Regions from separate parts of the Homo sapiens genome. Here region 1 is linked to region 2. Evidence: promoter capture Hi-C in 16 types of primary human blood cells and fetal thymus (Javierre and others, 2016). All regions are on one chromosome and are shown on one strand. The core of a region is centred on a gene start or on the middle of the fragment in contact, and the rest is flanking DNA. Distances in the headings are between cores, read along the strand shown. Region 1 holds the start of DNAH17 (dynein axonemal heavy chain 17). Region 2 holds the start of CEP295NL (CEP295 N-terminal like).

Region 1 (3,668 bases), core at 97-2,596, 330 kb after region 2:
TATTGTTATGCTGGTAGCACTGTCTTGATAACTGTAGCTTTGTAGTGAGTTTTGAAATCAGGAAGTGTGTGTCTTCAGACTTTGTTCTTTTTCAAAGTTGTTTGGATGGTTTTTGTTCCCTCATACTTCCCTATAAAATCTAGGGTCATTTCTACAAAAAAGGCAGCTGAGAGTTTGATAAGGATTGTGTTGAATCTGCAGATCAACTTGAGGAGAACTGTCGTCATCTTAACAATCTTCTTTTTTTTTTTTTTTTGAGACGGAGTCTCACTCTGTCTCCCAGGCTGGAGGGCAATGGCGGGATCTCGGCTCACTGCAAGCTCCGCCTCCCAGGTACATGCCATTCTCCTGCCTCAGCCTCCTGAGTAGCTGGAACTACAGGCACCCACCACCACGCCCGGCTAATTTTTTTGTATTTTTAGTAGAGATGGGGTTTCACCGTGTTAGCCAGGATGGTCTCGATCTCCTGACCTCGTGATCCACCCGCCTTGGCCTCCCAAAGTGCTGGGATTACAGGCGTGAGCCATCACGCCTGGCCCGTCTTAACAATCTTCTAACCCATGAACACAGCATGTCCTTCCATTGATTTAGGTTGTCTTTATTTCCATGATGTTTTGCAGTTTTCAGTGTACAAGTCTTAACACTTCTTTTTAAAGTTTATTCCTAAGTATTTTGTTGTTTTTGACGCTATTGTAAACGAAATTATTTTGATGCTGTTGTAAATGGGAGTTGTTTTCTAAATTTCATGATCAGATTGTTCATTATGGGGACAATTGTTTTCTAAATTTCATCATCAGATTGTTCATAATATAATTACAGAGAAATATAATTAATTTTCAAATATCTTGTATACTGCAAACTTGCTGAATTCCTCTATTAGCTCTACAATTTTATGGATTTCTTGGGATTTTCTACATACAAGATCACCTTATTGTAAACAGAGATAATGTCTTCCTTTCCACTTTGGGAGGATTGCTTGAGGCCAGGAGTTTGAGACCAGCCTGGGCAACAGAGTGAGACCTCATCTCTACAAAAAGTACAAAAATTAGCCAGGTGTGGTGATGTGCGTCTGTTGTCCTAACTTCTCAGGAGGCTGAGGGGGGGGGATCACGTAAGCCCAGGAGTTTGAGGCTGCAGTGAGTTATGATTGTACCACTGCACTCCAGCCTGGGTAACAGAGCGCGACCCTGTCCCCCCTCCAACCTCCCCTCAAAATGATCATCTAAGAGCCTTTCCACTGTGGGGTGACGGTTGGTTCCTCATTTGCTGCGCTATCATTGGTTACTTGGGTCCCAAGGGGAAGGTTCTAGAAGCCCCAGGTACCGTGAGGAGACTCCCAGAAGTTATGTGGCAGTTGGAGCCCCTCGAGGGAAGGGAGCCATTTTCTTTCCTGGTTTGGGAAAGAGTTGCTCATCAGTTTGCGGGAGAAGCTGTTTGCCTTCAGCTGGTGAGCGGCCTTCAACCATGCTGGGGGAGTCGGAGGCCAAGGTGGAGGGAGCAGGGAGGCCTTCAGAGGATGGAGGTGGGACCTAGGCCCTGGCAGACAGCAGACCCTCCACTTACCCCAGAAGTGGCTCTGCTCGCCACCGGGAGCTGTTCATGGCTCTGGGACCCCGAGGCTGGCTGCCACGTACCAGCCTGACCCCTTCCAGGGCTCCAGACTCTTCCCTGCTCCTGGGAAGGCCTTGCCTCAGCCCCCTGGCTTCTCCTGGAAGCCCCTAGCCCCAGCTTCCTCCTGTGGAGTCCTGAAGGCCTGGGGCATGGGCCACCTCCCAGAGAAGCCGTCTCTGCCCCTCCGGAAGCATGGCCTGGGACAACCCTATTGTTAACTGGGACCTCCTGGCCTTCAGCCCAGGAAACGGCTGGGTGGGAGCCTGAGATGAGACCTCCCGATCGTGCAAGAAACTTGCGGGGTGTAGGGGCCCCTCAGCCCACACATGTTATGGCTTGGGAGGCAGCCCACCCCATGCCGTTCTTGGAAGAAAAGATGACTTTGTGAAAGCCCAAATCCACAAAATCAGTAAACCAGAGGATGTTTCCCTCCAGTCCAGTCGCCTGACCAGCTTGGCGAGACTTCCAATCAGGAACCTTCCAGGACTCGGGCTCCCCTGAGTTCCTGATCCCCCTAGGAAATGACGACGTGACGCGTCCCCGGGTCTCGGAGATCCTGGGTGGAGATTAATTCAGCAGCATGCTGAAAGCCCTGTGGGAACCTGGTGAACGAGTCATCTCCATAAATGCCACGCGGTGCTCCTCCTACTTGCCTGGTGGTGTCCCCTTTTTCTTTCACAGATGTGCCTGAATCGGGTGGCTTTGCTCGTGGACCGCCATGTTTCTGCCATTTGCTGGCCAAATATTCCCCAAGTCCTCTCTCAGAGATGTTTGGAGCCTTGAATAAATCTCAGACCATTTGAATAGCATCCAAATGCTATCCACTACTGCTTCCCATCATATAGTTGTTTTGCCGATATATAGTGGCCAGGGTGAAATAAACCTGTTCCGTGGTATTACGTGTCTTTTGGGGAACTGTAGGCTGTTACAAACTTAAAAGCAATAGCTTGGGTCAAACCAAAAGGCAGAATTTGTGAGTGCTTCCAACGTCATCTGTCCACCCTGATGCTTTTCAGCAGCTGCCAGGTCTGGAGCAGGCCAGCCCCAGCCCACGGACCCCCAGAGCAGCTGAATACCCCAGGGTTCCCCTTGAAATTCAGGAGCTGCATACCTCCCAGATTGTGATGAAAACACAGCATCAGGCGACCCTTTGCATTCAACCCTGCCCTTGCAGAACTCGCCTCCAAGGCCCCCACCTCAGGCCTCTTGCCAGAGCCTGTCTTTATTTGAAACTTTGGTATTTTGTTCATAAATTTGTTTGCATTCATTTTGATGTTTAAAAATATTGACATGCCTTTTCTCTTGATGACTGTTTGGGTGTGTCTTTAAATTCTGTAAGTACCTCACTTGCCTAAACTTTGGGACTTCAGGGTGTTCTTTAAGGGGATCCCTTCCCCCCAATTCTCTAGTTAACCCTACCCCCGAGCATCTGAGCAGCTTGTGAGGGGTCTGTCAGGAATTTGCAGCTCGATTCTTTTAGGGGTGCACGCTGGGGGCTGGAGGGAGAAAGGGTGCAGAGCAGAGTGAAAGTTAAGGTGCACCACGGCTGCGGCTAAGACTGAGCGCTGAGCCTCACGGCCTGCACGTGGGGTCTGCTTCCTTCTTGCGTTTCACACATACTCTGGGGCTGCGACGTCTTTTATTGCTTTCCCAGGACCTTTCAACCTGACCCCCCAGCCTCTTGTTCTGCCTTTTCCTACCCCATCCCCTTCACACTGTCTGGTTGCGGCCATTTCCTTTTCTCTCTTTCTCCAGCATTCATCTCTATCTTTCCCATCCTCTGAACTTTATGGTCACAGGATTGTAAGCACACACCACTTTTGGGCAGCCTCACTCCCGGGGCACCCCCCATGGCGGGGCCGGGGCAGGTGCCAGCACCTGCTAAAGCACCCCCACCCCAACCCAACCACAGCTAAAAACTGCACACTCTCGACCAACTGTTTTGTTCCTGCTCCGGTAGAAACAGAGATTTCCTGCGGTGCCAGGGATGGGTGGGAAATTGGGGAGCCCGGGAGACAGTTCGTACCTGTTTCTTGCACTCTTAACAGATACACAGT
Region 2 (3,876 bases), core at 428-2,927:
GCCACCGCGCCCAGCCTGGATGTCCCAGCTCTTGCAGAGGGAGGGTTTGCCTGCCTCTGCCTCTGTCTCTTTGTTCTGTCCGGGCTTTCAACAGATTGAGTGATGGTGCCCCACCTGGCGAGGAGGGATCTTCTTACTCAGTCCCCCGGTTCAGATGCCAGTCTCTTCCCAGAGCCACCCAGAAATCACGTTTTCCCAGCTATCTGAGCATCCCTTAGCCCGTCAAGCTGACATAAAATGAATCATCAAGGGCTGCGAAGATGGACTCCAAAAGTGGGCGGGGGTAGGGGGGTGGTGGTGGACTGTGATCGAGAACATTCCTGCAGGGAGAATGCCTCCCTTCCCTGAGTCAGGGACCAGATAACCTTTCCAGGGTCCTTCCAGCCCAGGACAAAGGGCTTTGTCTCAGGTTCAGCTCTCCTGAGAATTCATCCTCCCCGAGATTTGGACACCTCAGCCGAATTCCTGCTGTTTACCTTCTTCTCTCAAGAAACAACAACCTGAGGATTGTTGCTTTCACTTCTTCGGACCCAAATCATGATTTCCCAGCCACATTTCTCAGTTGTCAAATTTGTGGAGGATGCTGGAAGCTTCTAGTGAGTTGCTTACAGATGATCCAACTGGCGGCTTACTAAAACATATCTTGGGCTGGGGGCGGTGGCTCGTGCCTATAATCCTAGCACTTTGGGAGGTCGAGGCAGGGGAATCGCTTGAGGTCAGGAGTTCAAGACCCGCCTAGCCAACATGGTAAAACCCCGTCTCTGCTAAAACACACACACACACACATAAATTAGCTGGGCATGGTGGCATGCACCTGTAGTCCCAGCTACTCAGAAAGCTGAGGCACTAGAATCCCTGAACCCGGGAGGCAGAGGTTGCAGTGAGCCGAGATTGCGCCACCGTACTCCAGCCTGGGCAACAGAGCAAGACTGTCTAAAAAACAAACAAAAAACATATCTTGACAATGCCAGTCATCACTTTACCACAGACCTTAAGATGCCAACCACCCAGACTAGGTCAGGGGCCCCCATTTCCAGCAGCTACTCCTGCTTCCTGGAAACCCCCTGCACCGGCCAGACTCCCCCAGTGTCCCATGTTCATCCCCAGCCTCGCCCTGCCAGCTTCCCTCGCCCATCCTTCTGATCAAACTGTCTGTGGGGAACTAGCCCTCAAACGAGGCCAAGTACGTGTGGCTTCTCCTCCTGTGTGGGCAGGTGGTTGACGGGATTCTTTCTTCCCCCGCCTCCAGTGGGTTTCAGTTTAACGATGGCTTTCTGGAGCTGTTTAGAAGCGTGAACAGATGCTGTCCCTACAGGAGAAGGGATGGCAGGCGTTGTCAGGAACCCTGACCTTGAAGTGTACCTCCTTAATGGCCTGACAGCTCAGAGAGAATGACACCCTGGGAGGTCTCCATGCAGCCAGCTGGGGACAAAAAGATGTCCTCTGCCTGGTATGGCCACGAGCATTTGTACATTGCACTGTCCTTGTTCACCCACACCTCCTTAAACAGTGCCTTCAGGTGCCCCCATGGCTCCCGGCTGCTTGAGCCAAATCTTTATGATTGATCCCCTAACCTACACGCTTGCCCCCTGGCTGGCTCACAGCTGTCCCTGACCTCACCCCTGCCATGATGTCACAGCTCAACAGCTCTGCTGTTCCCATGGCAACAGCCTGCTATGAGTAGCCAGCCAGGGCAGAGGCCGGGCTGCAGGTGGAGGCGGGGAAGCGATTCCGGCCACCTTTGGTCAGTGGGCCCCTGAGACCACTGCGGGGCTGAGGCTCTCTGTGTCTGTTCCCATCTGTGGTGAGGGTGGGGTTCTTTCCATGCCCAGCTGTTTAGCGAGGCTCCCAAGAGGGCCCCGGAGAGTGGGCCAAGGAGGGGCTCCAAGCCGTGGGTTCGCAAGGCCAGCGGCAAAGTCCCTGCACCACGGGGCTCCCCACAGGCAGTGTGATGGGAAGGAGAGTGAGGGAAGCTGGTGGGACTGGGTTGGAGATGAATATGGTTGTTGGAGGAGTTGGGCTGGGGGGTCTTCAGGAAGCAGGAACACCTGCTGGGATTGGGGACCCCTGACCTAGGCTGGGTGCTTAGGATCTTGAGGTTTGCAGGGAAGCGGTAATGGACGCTGTCGAGGTATGTTTAGTGAGCCACCGGTTGCATCAGCTGTAAGCCCCCCACGTGGGGAGCTGGCGTCTCAGCTGGGAGTTTGGAGGTCAGTCTGCCTCAGTGTCTGTCTCTGTGAAGCTGGTCAAGGGGAGGCCTGAGCCCGAGCTTGCCCCCAGAGGCTGCCTGCCCAACCATCTCCACCCTGGAGAGCTGACCCAGCCCAGGATATGGATACACACAGATTCATGAGCTGTGGCCCCAGTATTCGGGTGGAAAAGCCTGCTGTGGGCCTAGCCAGGACTCATTCTAACGTGACCCACCCCTGCCCCAGGTGATGCTAACACAGCCAGTCCAAAACCCAGTGCAGGCTGGGCATGGTGGCTCATGCCTGGAATCCCAGCACTTTGGGAGGCCGAGGCGAGTGGATCACCTGAGGTCAGGAGTTTGTAACCAGTCTGACCAATATGGTGAATCCCCGTCTCTACTAAAAATACAAAAATTAGCTGGGTGTGGTGGCGTGCGCCTGTAGTCCCAGCTACTTGGGAAGGCTGAGACAGGAGAATTGCTTGAACCCGGAAGGTGGAGGTTGCAGTAAGCTGAGATCGCACCACTGCACTCCAGCCTGGGCAACATAGTGAAACCAAAACCCAGTGCAGTGGCTTGGGACCCCCGTCCCCCCGCCACCACTGGGACGTGGCTAAGAGTTGGGGAGAAGAGGGCGAAAACCAAGCCTCTGGCAGCACACAGCGTGTCATGGAGGGTATTTTTAGAGGCTAGAACTCAGAGAAACGGAGTTAAAAATGTTTCTGATGTTTGTTTTATCTGGGCTTGGTTCGGATGCCTCCAGTGATGGGCGTCTCACTACCTACAAAGTCAGCCCAGTGATTTCAAGACAGCCCTGGAGACAGTGCTTCCTGCCCTCCTGTCAGCTTCTGCCTCCCTGTAATGTGTTCTGGGTGGTCTAGCTCAGTCATCTGGAGACACACACAGTAAGTACCACCCCTCTTCCCCAAGCATTTCAGGTGCTTCTCGTGGTGACAAGCACTGGCATCTCTGTAGATGGGTGCTGCTGTTGTTATCATCCCCATCCTAAAGAGCAAACTGAGGCACCCAGAGTGAAGTCGCTTGGCCTAGGTCACATAGTACTCTTAAGCACCATACTCTGCCATTCTAGACTTTTCTATCCTTTGCAAACACCCTTGCCCCACCTCACCTCCTTTGGCTTTTCTTCCTAGGACCTTTGGTCAGTGGGCCCCTCCTGACCAAAGGAGTTCATTCTCCTCCTGGACTCCAAGCCTGCGGCCTCTTCTCCCCGTCCTTACCGCCCTCCTCCTCTCCCGAGAACTGTCCAGGAAGACACACCTCTCCCTCGTTCAGATTTGCTCCTTGTTCTTCAGCCCGTGCATCTCCTTTAGGTCTTGAACAGTTCTGGACAGGTTTATTCCTGATCATTTCATCACGGTTTTATTGATTTTGAAACTTTATCCCGTGACATGATCAAATTGGCCATTTCTAGAGCACAGGCACTTCGTAGCTGTTGACCATCATTTAGCTCCACGTCTGCCCGTCGGTTCCTCGTGCGTGGAATCCAGCACCACGTGGGTGTCTCTGCCGAGCTCTCGGCATTTCCTGAGCCCTCCCGGAAGCCAGACTCTGTTCTCGGCGCTTCACACGGGCCGTCTCGTCTGATGCTGTGGCGTCCTGCAGGGTGGGAACGGGCGGTGCCCGTGGACGTGGCGCTGTGCCTGCCGGCGTCCTGGGCACCACAGCGT

What was found. The method cuts DNA at HindIII sites, captures the fragments that hold promoters and counts their contacts. A CHiCAGO score of 5 or more calls a contact.
Region 1: a contact is called between the fragment with the promoter of DNAH17 here and the fragment with the promoter of CEP295NL in region 2, in 10 of 17 cell types (total CD4 T cells, non-activated CD4 T cells, total B cells and 7 more). The highest score is 14.8, in total CD4 T cells.

Annotation. Positions count from the first base shown.
Region 1 is chr17:78,575,074-78,578,741 of GRCh38, reverse strand. DNAH17 (dynein axonemal heavy chain 17) reads left to right here and starts at 1,346. Exons shown (of 81, transcript NM_173628.4): 1 at 1,346-1,447; 2 at 3,660-3,668. The HindIII fragment of the contact is 12,238 bases long and covers 1-3,668 here.
Region 2 is chr17:78,901,002-78,904,877 of GRCh38, reverse strand. It overlaps CEP295NL (CEP295 N-terminal like), which reads left to right and starts at 1,677. Exons shown (of 3, transcript NM_001243540.2): 1 at 1,677-1,744; 2 at 2,952-3,093. The coding sequence starts at 3,050. All of the region lies in intron 1 of TIMP2 (TIMP metallopeptidase inhibitor 2), which reads left to right. RefSeq lists an enhancer at 1,898-2,498. The HindIII fragment of the contact is 4,047 bases long and covers 593-3,876 here.